Linked DNA regions of Homo sapiens: region 2 is linked to region 1. Evidence: promoter capture Hi-C in 16 types of primary human blood cells and fetal thymus (Javierre and others, 2016). All regions are on one chromosome and are shown on one strand. The core of a region is centred on a gene start or on the middle of the fragment in contact, and the rest is flanking DNA. Distances in the headings are between cores, read along the strand shown. Region 1 holds the start of RNF135 (ring finger protein 135). Region 2 has its middle 7.7 kb from the start of RAB11FIP4.

Region 1 (5,315 bases), core at 2,269-4,768:
CTTTTTGTCACAGGAAGTTAAGAAGAATTAAAAATTTAATACACATACATACTTTTGTTGTAGAGAAGTATTACAAAGTGATAAAAGACTTTCATGCATGAAATATATTGCTTTGGAATGTAATTCTGTGGAGGAAATGGAATGGAAATACAAGTTCAGAAAGATAAAAGAATGACAAAATTTCTTTTTTTTTTTTTTTGAGACGGAGTCTTGCCCTGTTGCCGAGGCTGGAGTGCAATGGTGCCATCTTGGCTCATGGCAACCTTCACCTCCCGGGTTCAAATGATTCTCTTGCCTCAGCCTCCTGAGTAGCTGGGATTACAGGTGCCTGCAACTACGCCCAGCTAATTTTTTTTTGTATTTTTCGAACTCCTGACCTCATGATCCGCCTGCCTCGGCCTCCCAAAGTCCTGGGATTACAGGCATGAGCCACCGCACTCGGCCAAGAATGACAAAATGTCTGATGTAGGCTGAGCGCGGTGGCTCACCTCTGTAATCCTAGCACTTGGGAGGATGAGGTGGGCGGATCACCTGAGGTCAGGAGTTCGAGACAAGCCTGGCCAACATGGAGAAACCCTGTCAACATGGGGAAACCCCATCTCTACTAAAAATACAAAATTAGCCGGGCATGGTGGCGAGCGCCTGTAATCTCAGCTACTCCGGAGGCTGAGGCAGGAGAATGGTTTGAACCCGGGAGGTGGAGGTTGCAGTGAGACGAGATTGTGCCACTCCACTCCACTCCAGCCTGGGCAACAAAGTGAGACTCCATCTCAAAAAAAAAAAAAATCTGATATAAATGAAGAATTTGCTAATATATTTTTACTACCAGAGCTGACCACTCTCCCCCTTCCCCCTTTCTTTCTTTCTTTTTTTTTTTTCTTTTGAGACAGAGTCTTGCTCTGTCGCCCAGGCTGGAGTGCAGTGGTGCGAACTCAGCTCACTGCAAGCTCCGCCTCCTGGGTTCAGGTCATTCTCCTCCCTCAGCCTCCTGAGTAGCTGGGACTACAGGCTCCCGCCGTCACGCCCGGCTAATTTTTTTTGTATTTTTTAGTAGAGACGGGGTTTCACCGTGTTAGCCAGAATGGTCTCAATCTCCTGACCTCATGATCCGCCCGCCTCAGCCTCCCAAAGTGCTGGGATTACAGGCGTGAGCCACTGCGCCCGGCCCCCACTTCCCCCTTTCTTATAACCACTGCATGATTTTGCATAAAACTTTTAGGGCGTGTCCAAGAAAAAAGTTTGAAAACTACTGGTTAACTCACTCTTTCCAGAAACTTGGCTGTGAAATGGAGAAGAGGAGAGCTGGTTCCAGGGAGGCTCAGGTCAAAGGTGATTTTATTTTATTTTTTAATTTTTAATTTTTTTGAGACTAGGTCTAGCTCCTTCCCCAGGCTGGAGTGAAGTGGTGTGATCACAGCTAACCACAGTCTTGACCTCCTGAGATCTCATGGCTCATTACAGCCTCCACCTCCCTGGCTCAAGCAATCCTCCCACCTCAGTCTCCTGAGTAGCTGGGATCACAGGCCTGCGCTACCATGTCTAGGTAGTTTTTGTATTTTTTTTGTAGAGGCAAGGTTTCACCATGTTGCTCAGGCAGGTCTCGAACTCCTGAGTTCAGGCAATCCACCTGCCTCAGCCTCCCAAAGTGCTGAGATTACAGGCATAAGCCACCACGCCCCGCCAGTGATTTCATTTTTTAAGTTGGAAGATCTGAGCATGTTTAAGTGTTTAGTATCATGCCCGTTTTACAGAAAAAAAGAGGCTCTTAGAAACTACGATTTTACTCCGATGCGGAGATTCTAGAACAAGATCCAGGTAATACATCAGTCAGGATAGGCTAGGTTATGCTGTAGCAGCACACACCCACTAAATCTCAGTAAGCTGAATACATCCTAGTTTTCTTCTCCCTCTTACTACGTATCCTAGGGTGCGTTGGCAGGGAGTCTGCTCATCTTAGCCACTCAGTGACCCAGGTCACCGGATGATGGTTTCATCTCCATAATTGGGGCAGCTGGCAGAAAGGGATACAATGGCCGGCTCAGTCGCCTTTAAAGCTGGTGGGAAGTAACATATTACCTCTGTGTGTTTCAAGTGGGTCAGGGAAGTGCCAGTCCTACCATGTGCCCAGAAAGGGAAAGCACTGGAAACGTTGATGAGCAGCGCTGCCTACTCCATGACACTTCCAGTATTAGAAATAACCACAAACGCTTTTTTTTCTTTCTTTTCTTTCTTTTTTTTCTTTTTTTTTTTTTTTTTTTTTTTGAGACGGAGTCTCCCTATGTCGCCCAGGCTGGAGTGCAGTGGCGCAGTCTTGGCTCACTGAAACCTCCGCCTCCCGGGTTCAAGAGATTCTCCTGCCTCAGCCTCCCAAGTAGCTGGGATTACAGGCATGCGCCAGGGCGCCTGGCTTTTCTTTTCTTTTCTTTTTGTATTTTCAGTAGAGATGAGGGTTCACCATGTTGGCCAGGCTGGTCTTGAACTCCTGACTTCAAGTGATCCAAAGGTCGGCTACAAACTTGTATTATCTGATACCTACTTTGAGCCCAGGCCAGAAAGGATAAAGTAAAGCATGAGACGTTGTTAGTTCATTTCAACAGATTGGGGAGTTGTGGGTTTTAGTCTCTGACGCTTCATTGTTACCATGAGAGCCTGCAAGTTTTTCTTTTTTCTCTTTTTTTTTTTTTTAACCTCTTTGGGTCATCTGGGAGGACGTGGTGCTCTTTTAGCTCTAACATTTTCTGGTTGCAATGCGTTTAGGACTGGGATGCGAAGTGAGTGAGTGAGTGAGCCTTCTCAGGAAAACACTTTCTAGAATTTTGTCCGAGTGTCTGTTGGGAAACGCGCTTACATCCCGCAGAAGGCGGTAAGGACACAGCGCACAACTCTGCATTATACCTGCGAGTTAAAAAGCCAAGGGTTCGCTCACTCAACCTTGAATGCGCGTCAGAATCACCTGGGGGAGGTTTTACAAAATACCCGTGCTCCACCCAAGACAATGAAATCAGACTCCCTGCGAGCGGGGCCGAACATCAGCATTTTTGAGGACGCTCCCTGTGGCTGTGCATCGGTGATCTTTAATCCCCTGCTACTTGTTAGAGGAGCTGGATGACACTTCGTGGGCTCATTCTCATAAATAAGCTGCTGAATGGAGTCCTCTCCTCCCAAGAGTTGTCGGTGTTGCATCTTTTTTGTTGTTTATTTTTTTTTAAGCCAACGGACGAAGACATCCAACGGTGCTGCATCTTAATGGAGGGACATCCAGCTAAAGGGAATCTTGGAGACCTCCGCGGGTTTCTAGCAGCTCGCGGCATGTTGGTTTCCCAGGGCAAGAGGCCGCCACTGAAGGTCAGCTCTGTCTTTCCAGCTGGGCACTGGAGGCTCTAAGTCTGTTTTCAGCAGGATCGGAGGAAGGAGACGGGGTGGCGCCAAGGAAGGAGGAGAAAAGGCGGCCGAGAAAAGGAGGAGGGCAAGGGGAAGAGGAAGGGCGAGGGAGGAGCCTGAGGAGACTCGCCCGGCTCAACCCCGACGTCCGCGCCCCGGCCGCCTGTTGGCCATGGCGGGCCTGGGCCTGGGCTCCGCCGTTCCCGTGTGGCTGGCCGAGGACGACCTCGGCTGCATCATCTGCCAGGGGCTGCTGGACTGGCCCGCCACGCTGCCCTGCGGCCACAGCTTCTGCCGCCACTGCCTGGAGGCCCTGTGGGGCGCCCGCGACGCCCGCCGCTGGGCCTGCCCCACTTGCCGCCAGGGCGCCGCGCAGCAGCCGCACCTGCGGAAGAACACGCTACTGCAGGACCTGGCCGACAAGTACCGCCGCGCCGCACGCGAGATACAGGCGGGCTCCGACCCTGCCCACTGCCCCTGCCCGGGCTCCAGTTCCCTCTCCAGCGCGGCCGCGAGGCCCCGGCGCCGCCCGGAACTGCAGCGGGTAGGGAGGCCGGGCCCGCAGCTCCCCTGGCTCCCCCGGGCTGCCCGCCGCCTGACCCTTTCCCATGTGGCTCGAACCCCTTTCCTCAGCCGTTCTACTTTTACGTTCCTTTTCTCAGTCTAAAAGTCGAGTTCCGCTCTTCGGAGGCACTTTGGAAAGTTCATAAAAGTATGAAGAAGTAGAAAAAAACAAATTCCCCATCTTCCGAAAGCTTGTCAACTTAGCTGTTACACAGCTTGGCATATTTCAACTTCTTCCCAATCGATCTTCGGTCTCTTTCTCTGAAACTTGTAAAATTGTGGTAAGATCTATATAACATTAAAACTGGCCATTTTAACCTTTTTCTTTATTTCTTTGAGACGGAGTCTCGCTCTGTCGCCCAGGCTGGATGGAGTGCAATGGCGTGCGTGATCTCGGCTCACTGCAACCTCCGCCCCCCAGGGTCGAGTGATTCTCTTGCTTCAGGCTCGAGAGTAGCTGGGATTACAGGCGTGCGCCATCACGCCCGGCTAATTTTGGTATTTTTAGTAGAGACGGGGTTTCGACATGTTAGCCAGGCTAGTCTCAAACTCTTGACCACAGATGATCCGTCCGCCTCGGCCTCCCAAAGTGCTGGGATTACAGTCATGAGCCACAGCGCCTGGCCTCATTTTAACCTTTTATTTTTTTGAGACGGAGTTTTGCTTTGTGGCCCAGGCTGGAGTGCAGTGGCGCCATCTTGTCTCACTGCAAGCTCCGCCTCCCGGGTTCACGCCATTCTCCTGCCTCAGCCTCCCGAGTAACTGGGACTACAGGCGCCCGCCACCACGCCTGGCTAATTTTTTGTATGTTTTTTTCTTTTTTTAAAAAATAGGGACGGGGTTTCACCGTTGTTAGCCAGGATGGTCTCGATCTTCTGACCTCGTGATCTGCCCGCCTCGGCTTCCTAAAGTGCTGGGATTACAGGTGTGAGCCACCGCGCCCCGCCTATTTTAACCATTTTTAAGTGTACAATTCAGTGACAAATTAGTTACATTTCCTGTTGTGCAACTATCACTTCTGTTTCCAAAACTGTTTCATCATCATAAACAGAAACTTTGTACTCATTAAGCAGTAACTCCTCATTTCTCCTCCCTCTAGCCCCTGCTCACATCTAAGCTACTTTCTGTATCTGAGTTTGCCTGTTCTAGATATTTCATATAACTGGAATCGTTCAATGTTTGTCCCTTTGTGCCTGGTTTCTTTCACTTAGCATAGTGTTTTCAAAGTTCATTCATGTTGTAGCATGTGTCAGAACTTTATTCCTTTTATGGGGCTGAATGATATTCCATTGGGTGGATGTGCCACATTTTTTTTGTTTGTTTTGTTTTGAGATGGAGTCTTGCTCTGTTGCCAGGCTGGAGTGTAGTGG
Region 2 (5,284 bases), core at 68-2,567, 410 kb after region 1:
TCTGATCTCCCATTGGCTGAGAGCCCTTCTCTTGCTTCTGTGACAGCTTCTCTATACAACAACTTTGTAATCATCAACTATCTTCCTATGTCCCTGGTTAGGATTATGAGCCTCCCAGTGTAGGGAACATGCTTTGTTCAAAGGTGCTCAATAGATAGTTGTTGAATAACACTGAAGGCTTTATGTTATAAAGAACTATATAAATAGAATGGGAAAATCCCCATACACAATAGCAACCCCAATGCAAAATCCCTAACAAAATAGAGGTGACCTGTGTAATAAAGACCTATTGAAAATTCTAATCCAGACTTTGAGATTTCACAGATCAGTAAAATTTCCAAAATACATTTCATCAACTTATGCATTTAGAAACAAGAAAAAAATATATCTAACATAGTTTTTTTGTAAAACGCCATTTCAACTCTGAGTAGTGGGGGAGGGAATCACAGGATAAAGTACAGTTCTTTAAAAGAAATTAGTTTTGCTTTATAAAAGTCACTATGTTGTCCTCAGTTTTCTCTCATTGCTGCTTATTTTTCTCCACACAGCACTGCTCAGCACGCAGGCATGTGAGGAAGCTGGGCTTAAAGGAGACTCCAGCAAATGGAGAGACAGACCACAGTCCTGGGTTGGAAAGCTGAATATCGTTGAATGCCAGATCTTCCCAAATAAATGAACTGGCTTAATACAATTCTGATCAAGATGCCAACAAGAAGAGAGTGTATCCAGACAAAATGATCTTTGGAAAATATTCTTCACCTTGTGGAATAAACAGGAAAGCATGGCTAACAACGGGTTGTCGAAAACTTCCTTATTAGGTAGTAAAACAAATTTTTAAATGCTTAAATACTAATGGTAATTAGAGTAAATATAAAGTGGAACAGGCTAGAAGGTCCAGATTATGCTTTGATTTTTTTATTTAAAAAGACAAGCATGAGTAACTCCCAAAGTGTATTGGCTTCAAAGCCACAAAAGCTTATTTCTCACCTCTGCTACATGTCCATCACCCGTTATCAGGAGGCTCTGCTCACCCTGATGTCTTGGGACTCCAGAGTGAGTGATCAGCCATCTCTGATCACTCACTCATTTGATCTACAAATGGCTAGCCATCATGCCAGAGGGAAGGAGCTCAGGCTGTAATGTCCAGCCGCTGTGATGATGGAAATGTTCTGCTGGAAGCTGAAACAGAGGGGTCCCATTTTCATTTGTCACATTAGCAAAGACGTACTTAACTAATATTGGTGCCAGTCCAGAATGTGGTGCAATGAGTTCTTCCTGCACTTGGCCTCATCTTTCTGTATTACCAGTTCCATATCTGCACTGTCCAGGACAGTGGCCACTAGCCACATGTGGCCATTGAACACTTGAAATGTGGTTAGTGAGAATGGGAAACTAAACTTTTATATTAAATAAATGTAAATAGTTACATGTGGCTACTGGCTGCTAGATTGGACAGAGCAGCATCTGGAAGCTCTTGCATCAGCAATTAAAGGCTTGAGGACAGATACACAGTCACTTTTCACAGTCATTGCCAGAACTTGACACACAGCTTCACAAAGTCACAAGGGTCAAAAATCACTATCTTCCTCTGTTCAAAAGGGAAAGAGCTGGAAACATTGGCCAAGAACATTAATGACTCCTACAATAGGGAAGGACTTTGTAAGCTTAAAAGCAGTGTAAGTGCAGTGGCTCACGCCTGTAATCCTAGCACTTCAGGAGGCCGAGGCGGGTGGATTGCCTGAGCTCAGGAGTTCAAGACCAGCCTGGGCAACATGGGCCTCTCTACCAAAATACAATACGTTCTCGGGCGTGGCGGCATGTGCCTGTAATCCCAGCTGCTCAGGAGGCTGAGATAGGAGAATTGCTTGAACCCGGGAGGCGGAGGTTGCAGCGAGCTGAGATTGTGCCATTGCATTCCAGCCTGGGTGACAGAGCAGGACTCCGTCTCAAAAAAAAAAAAAAAAAGCAGTGTAAGCTTAAAAGCAGAAATCCTAAGGGTCCCGCATTGACTGCCTAACATTAAAATGTCCCCATGTCCAAAAAAATCACACACAAAATTAAAAGGCCAACCAATAGGGAATTATAAAGAGTTCATAAAAACTCATCTAAAGAAAAAACCTAAGCAGAAAGAAAAATGGGCAAAGAACATGAATGGCCAATCCACAGAAATATTGTACCAACTCCTGTTTATGATGGAAAAGGTCATCACACTCATTAGTAAACAAAAAGAAATACAAACTGAAACAATGGGATACCTGATACATATTTTCACTTGTCACATTAGCAAAGACACTTAACTAATACTTGGTGCAGGTCAAGAATGTGGTGCGATGAGTTCTTCCTGCAGATGGCCTCATCTCTCTGTATTACCAGCCTTAAAAATGTCCATACTGGCTGGGCGTGGTGGCTTATGCCTGTAATCCTAGCACTTCAGGAGGCTGAGGCAGGTGGATCAGCTGAGGTCGTGAGTTTGAGACCAGCCTGACCAACATGGAGAAACCCCCGTCTCTACTAAAAATACAAAATTAGCCGGGCGTGGTGGTGCATGCCTGTTAATCCCAGCTACTCAGGAGGCTGAGGCAGAAGAATCACTTGAACCCGGGAGGCGGAGGCTGTGGTGAGCTGAGATTGCGCCATTGCACTCCAGTCTGGGCAACAAGAGCGAAACTCCGTCTCAAAAAAAAAAAAAAAAAAAAAAGTCCATACCATTCGCCCTAGTAATTATCTAGGAATCTATTCTGGAGAAACAAATGGTAAAAGAGTGAAGACTTTCATCAAAGTATTATAATATCAGAAAACCTGAAGACAACCAAAATATTGGTTAAATTATCTACATTCATCCAGCACTTTCTGGAAGCTGACCACTTCCTTATGCAGCCTTTAAAAATGGCCTAATAATATTTAAATTTTGGGAGGGAACTTCCAATAAAATCAAGAGTTTTAAAACCACATAAGAGGGCTAATTCCCAATTATATAAATACAAATATATGTGTATAGTTTTTGCATAGGATAAAGAAAAGGAAATGTATTGAATGTTAACAATATGTATGGCTCACTTACTCCTTTTTGTGTCTATCTTCTAAGCATTTTACAATGATTATTGCTTTGAAAACAAAAAGGGTTTTAAGAGATGAGGATAATGCTTACTTTTAGTTGTACTAAAAAGGATGTTTATGATAGCAGAGTTTAGGTATTACATTAACTACCACCTCTTGGATGTTTTTACCTTTATCTTTTTCCTTTTATCAAAAGGTAGCTCTTTACTAATTCGGATTACAGGGAGCTGGGTTTGTTTTCCTTCCTTAGGGGAGTATCAGCATAACTAGTTTAGAGTGGTGCAGGTGAACTGCTGTCAACTCCGTAGGCCAACCCTAAACCTTCACTGTTATTTTATAACTTCTACTCAACAGCTTGCAACCTTTCAAGGTTAACAAGGTTGATGGGGAATGGTCCTTGCTCTCAAGAAGCTCGTAGGCGGCCAGGCACTGTGGCTTATGCCTGTAATCCCAGCATTTTGGGAAGCTGAGGCAGGTGGATCACCTGAGGTCAAGAGTTCAAGACCAGCCTGGCCAACATGGTGAAACCCCATCTCTACTGCAAATACAAAAAATTAGTAGCCGGGCGTGGTGGCTCACGCCTGTAATCCCAACACTTTGGTAGGCCGAGGCGAGTGGATCACCTGAGGTCGGGAGTTCGGGACCAGCCTGACCAACACGGAGAAACCCTGTCTCTACTAAAAGTACAAAATTAGCCAGGGATGGTGGCATGTGCCTGTAATCCCAGCTATTTGGGAGGCTAAGGCACAAGAATCGCTTTGAACCTGGGAGACAGAGGTTGCAGTGAGCTGAGATCGCACCATTGCACTCCCGCCTGGGCAACAAGAGCGAAACTCCATCTAAAAAAAAAAAAAAAAAAAAAAAAAAAAAGCCAGGCATGGTGACAGGCACCTTGTAATCCCAGCTACTCGGGAGGCTGAGGCAGGAGAATCGCTTGAACACTGCAGAGGTTGCAGTGAGCTGAGGTCACGCCATTGCACTGCAGCCTAGGCAACGAGAGTGAGACTCCATCTCAAAAAAAAAAGAAATACATGGTGAAGGATGTGCACATTTAACTATAATTCAGTCATTTTCCTCACCTCTTTTGGCTTCCAGGCACCTGTTCCCGCTCCTCCTATGGCTCTGACAGCACTTCCTTCACCTGCCTCTTAACTCTCGGCTCTTGACCCTGTGTCTGTTTTCCTAATCTTGGAATGATCCCATCATCCCTGAGAAGACATCTGGGCGCCCTGGCCAGGGGAGACAGCTGATGGGCAGAGCATCCCTGTGTGTGCATCACGAACACACTGTAGAGTCTGCAAAGTTCTGTGAGGGCAGAGCAGTAAGGGCAGCTGACTCAGGGAAGGCTTCTTGGAGGGGGTGGCATTTGAAGGATGGCAGTGGGGGTGGTGGAGGGAGGACAATCCAGGCAGAGGGAACAGCATATGCAAGGCAAGCCAGGCATTTCACTGATCAATTCCATGTTGAGTCACTGTCTTGGAGTCTATGCCACACAATGCCTGGGATATAGTAAGTGCTCAATAAATGTAAACTGAGTATAGTAGATGATGTTACTGCCCAGCCATGTTTTACAGAATGGAGAGCATCAGGCTGTAAAGGGCCTTCCTGCTTGCCGCTCACCCTGAGGATTGAGTTTTTCTTTTAGGCAGAAGTGGGCAGTAGAGAAGGCTCAAAGCCAGGGAATGTGAGTGGATTTGACTCACCAAGGACACTGCTTCCTAAGCCAGGAGGGAAATATTGGTGCCCTGCCTGGAAGTTAGTTTCAGGGGCCATTTCTGCAGCTGACAGAAGGATCTGGAGCCCAGTTGGGTAGAATAAGTTAGGTTTTGGCATTTCTTCTTAGAATCCCGGAAGGAATTTTAGCAATCAGCCGGTCCTGCTTCTAAGGGTCAGAGAAGATTCTGGATACCCCTCACATCAACAGCTCATGCAGCAGAGGAAAGATGAGGTCTCAAGGTGCCCCCCTGCACCCCAAGTGTGCCCTAGTCCAGCCAGGGTCCTCAGCACTCCACAGGCAGGGCTGGCTGTGTCTCCAAGCAGGGGCCTCTCTGCTTTTGCTCACAGAAACATATTCTGGGATCAGTGAAGAAGGAAAATAAGTTCACGGCACCTTCTTCCCCTTCAAAGTGATAATTATTCATGGGTTTAAAAAAACCCAGCAGGTTGTGAACAGGAAGTAACTGAATCCTGCCCCATTTCCAGACAACATGGACAATGAAGTCAAGGC

What was found. Contacts are between HindIII fragments. The CHiCAGO score rates a contact against its expected background, and 5 or more counts as called.
Region 2: a contact is called between a fragment that was not itself captured here and the fragment with the promoter of RNF135 in region 1, in 1 of 17 cell types (endothelial precursors). The highest score is 5.5, in endothelial precursors.

The regions. Positions count from the first base shown.
Region 1 is chr17:30,967,521-30,972,835 of GRCh38, forward strand. It overlaps RNF135 (ring finger protein 135), which reads left to right and starts at 3,519. Exons shown (of 5, transcript NM_032322.4): 1 at 3,519-3,925. The coding sequence starts at 3,554. RefSeq lists enhancers at 2,655-2,744, 2,805-2,864, 2,933-3,494, 3,145-3,394, 3,495-4,056 and 1 more and a silencer at 3,475-4,014. The HindIII fragment of the contact is 12,676 bases long and covers 1-4,134 here.
Region 2 is chr17:31,381,325-31,386,608 of GRCh38, forward strand. No RefSeq gene overlaps it. Among named protein-coding and RNA genes, the nearest start is that of RAB11FIP4, 7.7 kb to the right of the region's middle. The HindIII fragment of the contact is 689 bases long and covers 974-1,662 here.